Regions from separate parts of the Homo sapiens genome. Here region 1 is linked to region 2. The links are contacts of gene promoters, found by promoter capture Hi-C in human tissues and cell types (Jung and others, 2019). All regions are on one chromosome and are shown on one strand. Each heading gives the region's core, a stretch centred on a gene start or on the middle of the fragment in contact. The rest is flanking DNA. Distances are from core to core; before and after follow the strand shown. Region 1 holds the start of LOC105374511 (a long non-coding RNA gene). Region 2 holds the start of SLIT2 (slit guidance ligand 2).

Region 1 (7,255 bases), core at 3,817-6,316, 790 kb before region 2:
CAAAGGTACCTGATTGCTCTTAGTTGTCGTTACATGAGGTTATTACCACCACTGACCTTCAATCATAATCAGCTTCACATATATAGTAAAGAGTTGGACAATTAAGAATCCTCATGGTAAGAGAGAACTTTTGGAGTCACAAATCCTTGAGTCTTCTCCATTTCTGCCACCTGCTTGGTGGCCACCATCTTGGACAAGCTGGTTAACATCTATAAGAATTGATTTCCTCATCTGATATATTTGTATAATAACATTGATCTCAGGGCTTTTGAAAGCATTAAATATATATAAAGCCCAGCATGGTGGCTCACACCTACAGTCCTACCTACTGGGAGTATGTGATTATGGAGTATCCATTGTGTGACGTAAAAGTATGTGTGTCTTATAGTAAAGTGCTCCATAATCACATACTTTATTTTTCATGTGTTCATATGTTCATATATATCACTTGTTATAAAACACATCTTAAGTCCATTATGAAGCTTATATCTACCTTAAACAATGCATGCTTGTATATAATAATTTTTAAAAAGAAAAAAATATAAATAATAGAAAGGCTGGAACAACAAATGAATACAGGAATGATGCTAATATAAAAATACAAACCCTAAATTTTCTTTATATATTTTGAGGGTAAGCTAGTTTCAGATTTTTCTCTAAGGTTTTGTAGGAAGAGAAAAATTGGTCACACTAACGCCATTTTAAAATATGCCCCCATCTGTAAGAGGCAGAGCCACCTGAGGTGAAAAGGTAAACGGCTTGTGTAAGATTTGGCTGAAAGTCCAGAAATTAACTCAAGTCCTGGAACATGTCCTGGGACACTCCCCCGGAACGATTGTTCAAGTCCTGGAGTACGTTTCGGAACGCTGCTCCCGGAACACCGCTCCTGGAGCGATTGTTTCAATGTTGCTTGCTCGGAATGGCCCTCCTGAGCAAACAACAGACGGTGCTCAAAGTAACAACTGGACTTAATAAAAGGAGCTTACACGAAGGAGGAGCTGAAGGCTGCTGTGGTCGTGTGCTGGGGGCTGCCCCAGCTCCAGCTGCAGGACCCCGGCCGTCTGCCTTCCGACTCCGGTGATGATTCTTCCTGCGGTCTGGTGAGCTTTGGTTACATGTTGTCTTCTATTGTTAGTTCTTTTATACCTACTTAAGACCTGCTTTTGCTGTGATATTTGCTCACTTTTTTTTTCTTTTTTTTTTCGAGATGGAGTCTCACTCTGTCACCCAGGCTGGAGGGCAGTGGTGCAATCTCGGCTCACTGCAGTCTCCGCCTCCAGGTTCCAGCAATTCTCCTGTCTCAGCTTCCCAAGTAGCTGGGATTACAGGCATGCGCCACCACACCCGGCTAATTTTTGTATTTTTAGTAGAGTGAACTATGTTGACCAGTCTGGTCTCGAACTCCCGACCCTAAGGTGATCCGCCCCCCGGGGCCTCCCAAAGTGCTGAGATTATAGGCGTGAGCCACCGCGCCTGGCCTTGCTTAACGACTGCAGGCTCCCGGGCATCTCCCTTCAGACTCCCGTGATAGGGCTTCCTGTGGTATTATGAGCTTCCGGTTACATTTTACTGAGCTTTGGTTACATTTTGTTTTCTCTTGTTATAAGGCTAATTTTCTATTGCTATTTGCTTAAAGTAATAAAGTTTTAGTTTACCCCTCCCTCCCACTTGAGTGTTCGGCTGTCCTTCTGACACCATCTTGAAACAGGTTTATTCAAAGATAAAAAAGGCAGTACGAACTCTGCAATAATTCACAGAGCCCATTACATAATGTAAAACAACCAGTCAGTGAAAGCAAAACTCTTCATTCGTTACTGAGACTCCTACTTGTGAAGCTGCTGGGGAGGTGACGGGAGGACAACTGGCTGCACCCCTCAAACACTGCTCTGGCAGCCCAGTCCCCACAGCTCCGTTTCTGAGCCCTGGCGTCCACTACTGTCTGGCCTATGGGCAGTACGCTCCTCAGTTTGGTTTCCCTCTCTTCTGCCCACACCTTGGTAATTAGACCTGCATTAATTAGCTTCCACTGTGTTATGCCGAGATAAAAACTACCCCCACATTTTAGTGTCTTTTAACAATAGTTTTTCACTTACATTGTGTGGAAATCACCGGAGGTTGGTGGCAGCTCTGCTCCACCTGTCTCATCTTGAAGAGGATGAGTCCAGACTGAAGATGCAGCCCGTATGTGGAATATGCCACTTCTGAGGCAGACAGGAAGAACCTGAGAGCTGCCAGAAACAAGCAGCCCTCTTAAAGCTTTCATTCGCACTTTGGGAGGCCGAGGCGGGCGGGTCACGAGGTCAGGACATCAAGACCATCCTGGCTAACATGGTGAAACCCCGTCTCTACTAACAATACAAAAAAACAAAAACAAACAAAAAAAAATTAGCCGGGCATGATGGCAGGCGCCTGTGGTCCCGCGTACTCGGGAGGCTGAGGCAGGAGAATGGCGTGAACCCGGGAGGCGGAGCTTGCAGTGAGCCGAGATCGCGCCACTGCACTCCAGCCTGGGACACAGAGCGAGACTCCGTCTGGAAAAAAAAAAAAAAAAAAAAAAGCTTTCATTCAGCTCTGACATCTCCTGTCCCATGTCATGAGTGTGTCAGGGTGTAGTGCAAGCTGCCAAACGTGCTTCTCCCAAAAGAAGGCCTCTTGAGGGACAGAACTCTGGGTTGTGGTTGGAGGGTGTGTATCGGTGAGAGGATGGTGGATGTGTAATTCCCTTACAGGAAAGGGGACTGCTGCTCACCGGGAATGGTAATATAATCTGCAGCCTTTTAAAACTTTGCTCAACTTTCTTAATCAGAATCACTTGTCTCCTAGCATTCTGACCTTTACATTGTTTAGGGGAGAAAGAAAACAGATACTCCAGTTGAGGAGGGATGATATTCAGTGACAAAACCTTGGCAATAAAAATATTGACAAAATGAACATTCATACAATTTTTAAAATGTAAACAAAATGTTTCAAAAATATGTATTATTGTTTGCTATATTCCCTCTTTAAACTATCATGACTTCTTAAATTATCTTACCAGTACCTACCTATTTACTGCACGCTTTACAGAAGAGGAGTCTTTCTAAGGCTGTGTATACATTTGCCACAGAACCAAATGGGTTTGTTTACTGTTAGTTTTATATATTCCTCTAGGTCATTAATTTTATACAAGATTCAAGAGTATTTATTTGTGTTGGTAAACCGTAATCCATAATTCTCATTTATTTATTTATTGTAGAGACAGAATCTCATTACGTTGCCCAGGCTGGTCTCAGACACCTGGGCTCAGGCAGTCCTCCTGCCTAGGCTTCCCAAAGTGCTGGATTAGACATGAGCCACTGCACCTGGCCCATAATCCATCAATCATTGCACCAATCTACTATACCAGCCCTTTTGGTTATTTCTATTTTTTTTTTACTATTGTAATTTCACTATGCATTTGTCAAATTATTTTCCTTTTTTTTAAAGTCACATCAAGATTTCAAATCTTATCTCTTTTAAATCTCTTGCTAGTTAGCATTAATGGCCATCCAGAAAAAATACCAATTTTTATTTTCTTTAGGGGTCTCTTTCCTTTACATCTTTCATTATATTCCTTTAAAATTATTAATTTTTAAAAAACTTAAAAAAATTTGTGGGTACATAGTAGGTGTATATATTTATGGGTTACCTGAGATATTTTGATACAGGCATGCAATGTGAAATTTGATCTTTGCTAATCTTAAGGTGAATGATCATACTTCTGGCAACTGGTGAATTCAGTGGTGTATAGATATGCTTGATACATGTTTTTTTGTATAAATACATATATACATGCATATATATAACATGTATACGTACATGTATTATACATATATACATGTATATATATGCAAGTATTTTTTATATATCCACATGTTTTAGTTTCAAATAAATATGCTTGCTTTATAATTTTTCTAATATTAATGTATTTTATACAGAATTTAAAAACAAAGTTATTTGATATGATTCTAAAGATCAAAGTTGTATAAATAATCTTTCATAGTTTTGGTACATTATTAAATTTCAAAAAATAAAAATATAATGAATCCAGAATTAATTTTTAAATATGGTATGATTTAGGCACCTAATATTTTTTAAATAAACAGTCACATTTCCATATATCATTTATAAAATAACATTTTTAACTTTTATTAATTTGACTACCACCTTTATTATATAATTTAGTTTTTACACATTAGTGTTTTCTTATATACCCCATTAAGTGCCTATTTCTCTGCTACTACAACATAATTTAAATTTTTGTCACTTTATACCCTGTTTCTGTAACAGGCCGATCTCTCCTTTTTCTCTCTTTTTAAGTTAAAATTTTTTTTTCCATATACGTAAGTCCATATGAACTTAATTTAAAAACAATGTAAAACAAAATGTTTTTTAATTTTGTTAAATATATACATTATTTTGAAAAAATGCCACTTTTAGTATATTGTCTTCCTGTGCAAGAACATTATCTCTCCATTTACTTTTCTAATATTTATATTGATTAAAGTGTTGTATTTCTCATATTTCTCAAAATTAAAAACATTTCTTGGTTTTTAATTTTTGCCCATTTTCATTATATATCAGATATTTTCAACATAATGTTAGAAAATTATCAATTTAAAACAATAAAATATATTATTGAAAATTTTCTGAATTCTGCCATTGTTTTACAGATATTACTCTTAGTCAAAAATTTTATCCACTGCAGAAAATTATGATTTGAACTCCTCCATTCTGATCAATGATGCTATTGTTGCCTTTGCAATAGCAATGCCAACTCACTTCAGTTACAGTGGTGATTGTAGTATTCTTTCTATTCTTTTATTGTATTTAATTAATATCCTAGTGATTTACCATTAAGTATCATTCTGATCCTTAATTTAAGATTTTTTTTCTTTAATAATATGAAGGAACTATATGTCTTTATTGGACCGTAAGTTTATTTTATTAAAAAGTAATTTTATTAAAGCATTTGAATTTATCAAAACTATTACATATTCATTTTATTTTCCTTCTACATAGAACATGATTCACACTTTTGAATATTAATTTGCAAGTTCAATTCAAAATAGTGTTCTTCCATTGTATCATTTATTATCATTTCCTTTCCACTTGTTTTTTCTCTTTCTTTGCACTGGCATTTCTCTTTATCTGGGAATAAAGATCTCTTTTCCTATACTGGACAAGTCTGGAAACCAAGATAAACTAGACACATTTGAATGCAAAGATCCCATTGCTAGCAAGTAGCATTCCCATTTGACATTTGGCTTGAAGTCTGGTAAAGAGGACGGGTAGGATAAATATGTAGTGAGAAAAAATAATCATATTTTTACCCCTACATCATTACTTGTGCCCATATTGCAGATATTATATAGAGAACAAATGTTTGTTCTTCCATAGCATGTTAATTCCTAAGAGAGTTGGAAACCAAATGAATAATACACTCACTATTTATTTATTTATTTATTTATTTATTTATTTCTGAGATGAGGTCTGGCTCTGTTGCCTAGGCTCAAGTACAGTGGTGCAATCACATTTCACTGCAGTTGAGCCTCAAACTCTCAGACTCAAAGGATCTTCCTGCCTCCACCTCCCACGTAGCTGGGACTAGCGCATTTGTCTAGCACATTAAAGGTGGTTCCTTGTAGAGATAATGTACAATCATATTTTTTTTACTATTTATCTACCTCATTATGTAATCTACAAATAGAAACCATGAAAACCTGTGTATATATACTATATGTCCTTAAATGTACATATGTATGCACCACCATGCCTGGCTTATGTTTTAAAATTTTTTGTAGAGATGAGGTCTCACTGTGTTGCCCAGGTTGATTTTGAACTCCTGGGCTCAAGCAATCCTCCCACTTTGGACCCTCAAAATGCTAGGATTACAGGCATAAGCCACTCATGTTTGTAATAACAGAGTTCAATTGCCTCATCAGGAGATATTTCTGAATTTTCTTCATTCATTAGAACTAGAAGATCTGAATTCTCATGTGGTCATTTTTGTGTCATGTGCTTTCAAAACAAATGGAAGGTATTTCTACTCATTTGGAATGTGTCAATTTGGGAACAATTGTAAATATATATGTAATAGAACTACTTTATTGAGAATGAAAGGAGTGCAATTGAGCATGTGGATTGTAATTTTACCCTCAGCCTATCTCTCACAATATCACTGGAACACCCAACCCTCTTTATTGCCTTTTCCTACACCTTATTCTCTTCACTTGAAACTCTATTTTTTCCAAGAGTAAAGCTATGTTATCATCAGATTAAACAAGGCTCTGGCAGCTACTCTTCACTGTTACTCTTCACCTAGACTGCCTAGCGATTTTCTCTTTTGCTGTTGAATAGCTTCAGAATGTGGCTCTTGCTCCCTACTCTATTCACAGTTGCCACTGGTCCTCTCACTCTTCCTACCATAATTCATGGCCTGGAATGGAGGTTTCTCTTCCATCAGTGACTTGATAGAGAAAGAGAAGAGAAGAGAAATGAGCTTCTTGCTCATTCCCCAAAGGACATGCTGAAACTTCTTGTGCTTTATGGGCTTTACTTTCATGAATGTTAAGATGTTTTCTTTTTGGGCATTGTCAGAGAACAATGAAAGGATAGCTTACAATCAAAAGTCTTTTTTTAATAATAGCAAATAGGTTTTCCAGGAACATCTTAGTCATAGTGTCAGTATCTGCCATATGGAAATATTTTTATGAGTATCTGCCATACTCATCTGCTGTCTCTGAATATCTGCTATAAGTACTCCTGCCTTTCCTTTGTTTCAGAATCTTAATTTTTATATATTAGTCCCAGTTTTCTTCCAGTATTTTTTTATAGTAGGCCTAGGTTTTCATGCAGTAGAAGACACATTGGTCTACCAGGATATTCTACTATTCCCAAAGTAGACTTACTAATTAAGTTCCATGGTCTTAAAAGATATTTTACTTTGTGGTTATCTGCCTTTTCTGTTTAAGGGAACATATCTGATGTTGAAGCCATTTTTTGCCTTAGTTTAGCCTATCCTAAAGGTTACATATACATCCACTGATAAATTAGCGAGACCAACAAATATTAATGTGGGATGTAGCTGCCAGAGCCTTGTTTAATCTGGTGATAACATGGCTTTACTCTTGGAAAACATAGAGTTTAAATAACACTTTTATAGAAATGATCTCATTTTATCTTTACAAGAGGACAACAAATTGTACTTCATTTTATGGGGGAAAATCTTAGTAAG
Region 2 (6,687 bases), core at 3,699-6,198:
AAATTTGAAACTCATAAAACTATTAAAATTTTTACCGTGTATTTTTGTTTGTGTGTTTTGATATTAATGTATTTTTAACCTGCATCGAGTATTAACTATCTTTTGCTTTACTTTTCCCACTATCATTTTTCTATTATCAGCATATTCTCTTTTGTTCTTGCTGGAGTATCTCACACATTTAATATTCAAATGTCACTTTAAACCACTGCACTCTTTCCTCCCCCAATACATCTTTGTCTTCATTTTATATAGAACAAGTCTTTGCTTGGTGTACTCAAATCATAGAATTTGAAAGGTAGGGTATTACAATGTTTGTGAAACAGAGTTTGGGATTGAATTGGAATTCTAGTGCCTACTTTGCTGCTTGCTAGCTGCATGAACTGAATGAATTCCTGTAAACCTCAATTTTCTTCACTATAAATCAAGGATAAAAATAGTATCCAAGTCAGAGGATTGCTGTGAAAATTAAAGAAGCTAAGATATATAAGGTGACCAGCCCAGTGTTTGGAACACAGACACTGCTTAATAAATATATTATTACTAATAACAGAAGGATGGATTTATGGTTCAACTGGTCTAATCCCAACAATGTATAAAGGAGGAAACTAAGGCGAGAGCTAAGCCGCATATCCAAAGCTACCCAAGCACTCCCACTTATCAGCAGATCAAGGTTTAGAACTTCTCCCTTTAATTTCACTGCATAATCAACAAGCAGTTATTCTGGCAGCGGGAAACCAACTTTACCTCTTCAAAGATTAGTTTATATTATGTGACACACATAGCACAAAACTAATTATATCTATCGCCACTCTTTTGTTCATGGGATACTGTAGGTCTGAGCAGGGCTTGATTATTGTAAGTTGATTTGTTCTTCTTGTAAAGTATCACCCTCAGCCCAGCCCTTCCCAGGACTCAATACAAGAAGTTATTGGATCATAGTAATAACTAAAGGAATATGTTATCTATTCTCATAATACAAATATAATATTTTAGAAAATTTCAGATATTAAAAGTAATAATGAAATACCCTTTATTTAATAAGCACCTAGCTCTATGCCAGGCCCTGTGCTGTTAGATTGAAAAATAATATCTTAATTTTCACAATAATCATGAGAAATAGGAATCAATGCATCCATACAAAAGTGGTATTAAACTGGAAAAAATCCCTATAAATATAACAGATTTTTTTAAAGGGTTGAGGCATATTCGGGCAGGTTGCTGATGTAATAACTAGGAAGCCCTTTCCACTTCTGAAGGCCATTTCCTTGGAAAATAAAACTAAAGTCTTATTGCCTCTGCGGAGCTGTACATCAAAATATTTTGGTGCCCCCTAGAGGTAATCAGTAATGTGCAATTGTCAACCCCCAGGAATGAGAAGCTGAAGACAATTCAGCAGCTGTTATCTATTATTCTTTGCTGCTTCATTCTCCGTACCAATGTGTCACAGATACAAACACAGAGCAGCTCTTGAGTAATGGATCTCAAATTTTAGTGAACATCAAAATCTCTTGGAGGGCTTGTGAGAACACAGCCTTCTGGCTTCTGTTCCCAGATTTTCTGATTTTGTGGGTTTGAGTTAGGGCCTGAGAAGTTGTATCTCCAACTACAGTCCTGGCGATTACGATGCTGTTGGTCCAGGGACCACATGCTGAGAACCACTCACCTAGAGAATCATCTCAAAGTCAAAGCTATGTCCAGAAGCAGGTCAGGTTTCAGTATCCTTGAAGTGCTGGTGCTGAGGACTCTAGCTCTTTACTGCTCCCTGTAGATGCCCTTAAGGAGTGTGTGCAGAGACATGACCATCTCCTGTATGAGGGTGATCATTCCTGAGGATCTATAGATTCCTTGATCCCCACGAGTTCCAGTGGATCTACAGATAAACAGTTGGGTGAAGAAGAATCAATTGAGAATTGAGGTCAGAGAACTTAGGTTCTGGTTCTAGCTCTGCCATTTAATAAGCTGCGACTTGCATGAAGACCAACATCCTCTACTGTAAGGAGTGAAATAGCAACCATCACTGTGGATGTAACTCTGTCAAATAGCTTGGAATTTAGTAGGCTTGAAACAAATTTTGGTTAAATCTTAATTTCCATTATATTAGGGTTCCATGTCTACGTTTCCAATACAAAGATATTGTGAGAAATATCAGATAATTTAAATGAAAGAAATATCAAATAATTAAAATGAACACATTGCAACAATGGAAAATAGTAACATGAAGGCAGTTAAATTCAAGGAATTAAGTTTCATGAATTTGATCAATGCAATTACTGTTACCTACCTCTGTTTAAAAAGACAGAGAACAATAATTTTTACTCTTCTTTATCTCTTTTTCGTAAATTCTCTTTTCTTCCTCCCTTTTCCCATATAACCCAACTTCACAACCTTTTTATTTCAAAAAAATGCAAAGTTTATTAGACATTTAATAACCTACACATTATTCTGATGCTTTTTATTTCTTTGCTGCATAGGTGATTGTCTACATTGTTTCCAAATTATTGTACGAACTGGATTTTTTTTTTTTTTTTGCAAGATAATAGGAGACTCGGATATTGGCTATAGTGGATTCCACTTCTGCTTAATCCAGGTCAGGATTTATGGAGACCTCATGTGGTGACAAGAGGCACCACAGAAGGCTTTCTTCAGGCTGGGTTTAACAGTGAAAGAGAAACTCAGAAATTCATATGGGAGCAAAATAATCCATAAAGAATTAAGACCTAGAAGTTAATGTTTCTGAAGCCTGCAAGGCCTTCAACAAACATCCTGCAGTAATACTAATGGAATAATACAGTAATATGTTAAAGGACAGGAGACCTGGTTGTTTATGTATGTATAAAATTCCCCTTATCAACTAAAAAGTTAATAACGCAAAAAATAGTAAGATATGCCTCTCAAGAATTAATTACAGTCTTTCTTTTTTCTGAATGAAATCCACTGAACATAGCTTCTTATTTAAATTGGCTTCAAATTTTAAAAAGATGTTTCTGTAGGCATGTTGCTATGTATGTTAGTTTCTCCTTGGTTTTACACAAAACAGAAAGTGATCAGAGATAGAATGAAACTTGAACTTATGTCTGTGAATTTCACTTATGCAACAATATCAATAATATTATTTATAAATATTTGGAATGCAGGATATGTTCTTGGAATTAAAATATGGAACAACAATTCTATGTGGTGCACAAAGTTGAACACAAACACCTCTTGTTGCTGACAAGATATTAAAGTTGTGAAATTAAATAAATTAATGTATCAGCAACCATATTTAACCACATAATTTACTGGTACACACTAAGGAAAATTCACTGAGGGTTGGGGGAGCTCCTTCCTCAATGACAGGTACTTGTTCTTTATCTCATTTTCCTTACAAGAAAATGTGACAAGGGCTTCTTTTTTCTCCTCCTCAAGGAAGTTACATAACAGACCTTTAAGCTAAAATCTAGAAGGACAAATGAGTTAATAAATGTCAAATGTTTTTGAAGGTTTTAAAAGAATAGAGCAATATAAATCTGTGGCATTAAAATGAGTAATCCTAAGAGTTCCAATTCAGTTATCAGATGGTACCCTGCCTTTGGGCGTGTCCTCGAAAAGGCTTACGTTTTCCAAGGCAGGCAAAATGAGGTAAGTAGGGGTAGCCATTATGAAAGGACATCTTAGAAAATGTTAACCAGGAAAAACGTTAATGAGGATATTGCAGAGATTTTAGGTTGAGCATACTCTTGAGTTAAAGAAATCGGTTACTTATGAGGAAACCTATTATGTGGCAGGCATAGATGCTGGAAATACAAAGAGTTGGACAGGTCTTGCTTTCAAGGAAGCTTCTAATAATTATACAAATAACTACTACAATATGAGGCTGGTATTAGGCGGGGGCTTGCACAAATTCCAGGGAAAGCTTCTTAACGTGGAAATGGGAGGAAGAACAACAATATGATGCATATTAAATCCAAGAGAAGGAGCAGAGTCATTTAGATGTCATTTCAAACTTACAGTGACATTGGCTCTTGCTGGGGGGGAAAGGGGGGCGAGAGAGGCAGCCGTTGCCAGACATACGTCACACTAAAGAGACAAGATGAAACAAGGAAATTCTCTTTCAAAACATAGCGGGGAAAAAAATATCCAGAACTGCCCTGAAATAAAGAAAACCTTCTGGTATAATGTGCGTTGCTAGGGATTTATTTTTTCCCCTCCTTTCTCTCATAAGAGAGTAAAAAATCACACAGATACGTTCAAGCCCTTAAGAGTTTTGTGAGCCTATTGAATATCCAAGACATCAACTGACCACGGTGTGGTTCAGTGTGTGTCTACAAAGGAAGGGTTAAACGGAAGGGGGTGGCTTGGAGATAGAAAGGCAAGCAAGAAGGTTGGAAAATGCTGTTTTCCAACTTGCAAAAACTGAACTTTTCAGCTCCCCAAAATACACGTGTGTGTCTGTAAGCGCAGGCAGATCTATTTCGGTAGGATTTTTCTTAAATTTAAATCATAATTTCTCTGTTTCTGTCTCTCTGTCTCTTGCTGCGCTGCAAAGAGTGAGCAGCCCCCTTAAGGATCGCGTGGCAAAAGCTGCAGGAGAGGCACTGGCAGGGCTGTTTATTTATGAGCCGCGTTCAAAGCCGACCTCTTCCCATTCTCCCACTGCAAACGACTATCTCCGAGCCCAGGTCACCTCTGGGGCCAAGGAGTTGGGGGCTGGGGCTCGGGTGGCTCCTTCTTCGGGCCAAGTTTGCCCGCGCGTGGGAGCGAGGGGGCGAGCCAGGGCGCACGGGAACGCGCGCCGCCAGCCGCCGCCTCCGCCCAGCGCTGGCAGCCCCGGCCTCACCTCTCCCCTCTCCCCAGCGAGGTGCGGGCTCCCAGAGCGGAGCCAGGGGGCGGGCCTGGGCCTCGAGGGGCGGGGTCAGGGGGCGGAGGCTCGGGCGGCTATATAAGGCCCGCGCCGGCTCAACTTCGGACTTGGTGTTATTTATTTGGGAAGCGCCCGGACGGCGGAGCTTGGCGGCGGCGGTGGTGGTGGCTGCCGCAGACTGTGGTTAAAAAAAAGAAGGCGGCGGCGGCGGCGGCGGCGGAGGCGGAGGCAGCTGCGAGGCATGGGAGCGCCGAAGCGCCCAGGCGCAGGCCGAAGCTGCCGCGCTTTCTGGGCACGGCGGGAGTGCTGAGCAGAAAGGGGAGCGCCGGGGGCCCGCAGCCGGCTCCGGAGGCGCGGGCCGGGTTTTTGTTTGGCTACGCTGAGCGCCAGTCAGCCCCAGCGAACAACTCCAGTTACGACAACAACCCACCTTCCTTCCAGACAAGCGAGACTTGGGCTGCTGCGTCCGTCCTATTGTTTAGACACTTGCCAGGGGCTCCGGAGTCGGCAGAGCCACCGAGTCCCCGCTCTGAGTCGTCGCCCTCCCTCTCCCCGACCTCGCTCCCTGGAGCGGGAGGCCAGGAAAGCAGCGGGAGAGGGGAAGGGGCTAGAAGGAGAAGGACTACCCGGGACTGCGGCCGCCGCGTCAGGTGCAGCGCCAGGAGCCGGGCGGCGTCGCCACGCCGGCAGGGGTACCGCCACTGTGGCCTTGGGGGACGGAATTCAAAGCCTGGGAAAAGTTGCTGCACTTTGAGAAGGACGAACCACTAGTGGGAGACCGCCGGGGGCCGGCCGTGGCTCTGCGCCCTCCGGAACCCGGCTCTTGTTTCTTCTACCTTTGCCATCAGGTGTCTGCCGCGGAGCTGCGGCTTATCTGGGAGACGAGCGGGGTTGACACGCGCGCACACACTACTGCCATTCAGCTGCCGCCTGGCTCTGCCTGGAGTAGTGGATCCCACCCGCCCACCTGCCACCGAGCCATTCTCCAGTACGCCCCAGCAGGACGCTGACACCTCCAACCTTGGCCTTTGCCTTTCCACTCCTTCCGGTCTGCCTGGTTTTTAAGTCCGCCCCCAGTCAGTCCCCACTCAGTCTTCGCAGCAGCTCTCATCCTCCACTTGGCCTCTTGGAGTTCCTCGCCGGAGTGCTGACTAGTGGATATTTCTGCCCGGCTGCGGCGGCCCGACTGCCCTTTTGTCTTTTCTGCGTGACCTCGGGGCAGGTCCTGGTGCAGAGCGTCGCCAAGGACGCCGAGCGGGAGGCGGGATTGCCCAGACATCCTTCAGCGAAGTGCATGTGTGTTTGTAAACCATCGTTGGCTGTCGGGAGACCGCGAGGACCGGTCCAGGCTGCGGCGGAGTCGAGGGCGAGGGAGAGGCCGCGTGAGTGAGCAGAGTCCAGAGCCGTGCGCCCCCAGAACTGCGCGTCCGCCCCGTGCACCCCCGCGCGCCATGCCCAGTTGCCCCGCGCGCTCTGCTACGGGCCCGCTGGGCTTCCGCGCCTTCTAGCTTCCGGAGCCCACTTTGATCGGGGCCATAATACCTATTGAGATCCCCTCTTCTGTCTTGTACCTTCGCCACTGGCATCGGATTTGCAGAAGCGTGCGTGGGATCAGAGGACCGCCCTCCCCACAACAACCGGCCCCTGCATCTTAGCAGCCGTTGGAAGCCCCAGCTCTTTTACCGCCAAGTTCATCCTTGGGAGACAGAAGACGCGTGATCTCCTCTCCGCTGCTCTTGGGGTCTCCTTGCAGCCCTGGCCAGGCGGATTCATCCTCAGGACCTAAAGTTGCCCAAGGAGCTCCTGCTCTGCCAGAGGAGGGTGGAGAGGGCGGTGGGAGGCGT

Evidence for each region. The method cuts DNA at HindIII sites, captures the fragments that hold promoters and counts their contacts. A contact is called where the count stands out against the background at its distance.
Region 1: a contact is called between a fragment that was not itself captured here and the fragment with the promoter of SLIT2 in region 2, in 1 of the 25 tissues and cell types used here (lymphoblastoid cells).

The regions. Positions count from the first base shown.
Region 1 is chr4:19,454,553-19,461,807 of GRCh38, forward strand. LOC105374511 (a long non-coding RNA gene) reads left to right here and starts at 866. Exons shown (of 5, transcript NR_188379.1): 1 at 866-1,100. LINC02438 (long intergenic non-protein coding RNA 2438) reads right to left here and starts at 2,438. Exons shown (of 3, transcript XR_001741605.2): 1 at 2,094-2,438. The HindIII fragment of the contact is 7,394 bases long and covers 1,370-7,255 here.
Region 2 is chr4:20,246,957-20,253,643 of GRCh38, forward strand. SLIT2 (slit guidance ligand 2) reads left to right here and starts at 4,949. Exons shown (of 37, transcript NM_004787.4): 1 at 4,949-6,687. RefSeq lists an enhancer at 6,065-6,687. The HindIII fragment of the contact is 10,378 bases long and covers 903-6,687 here.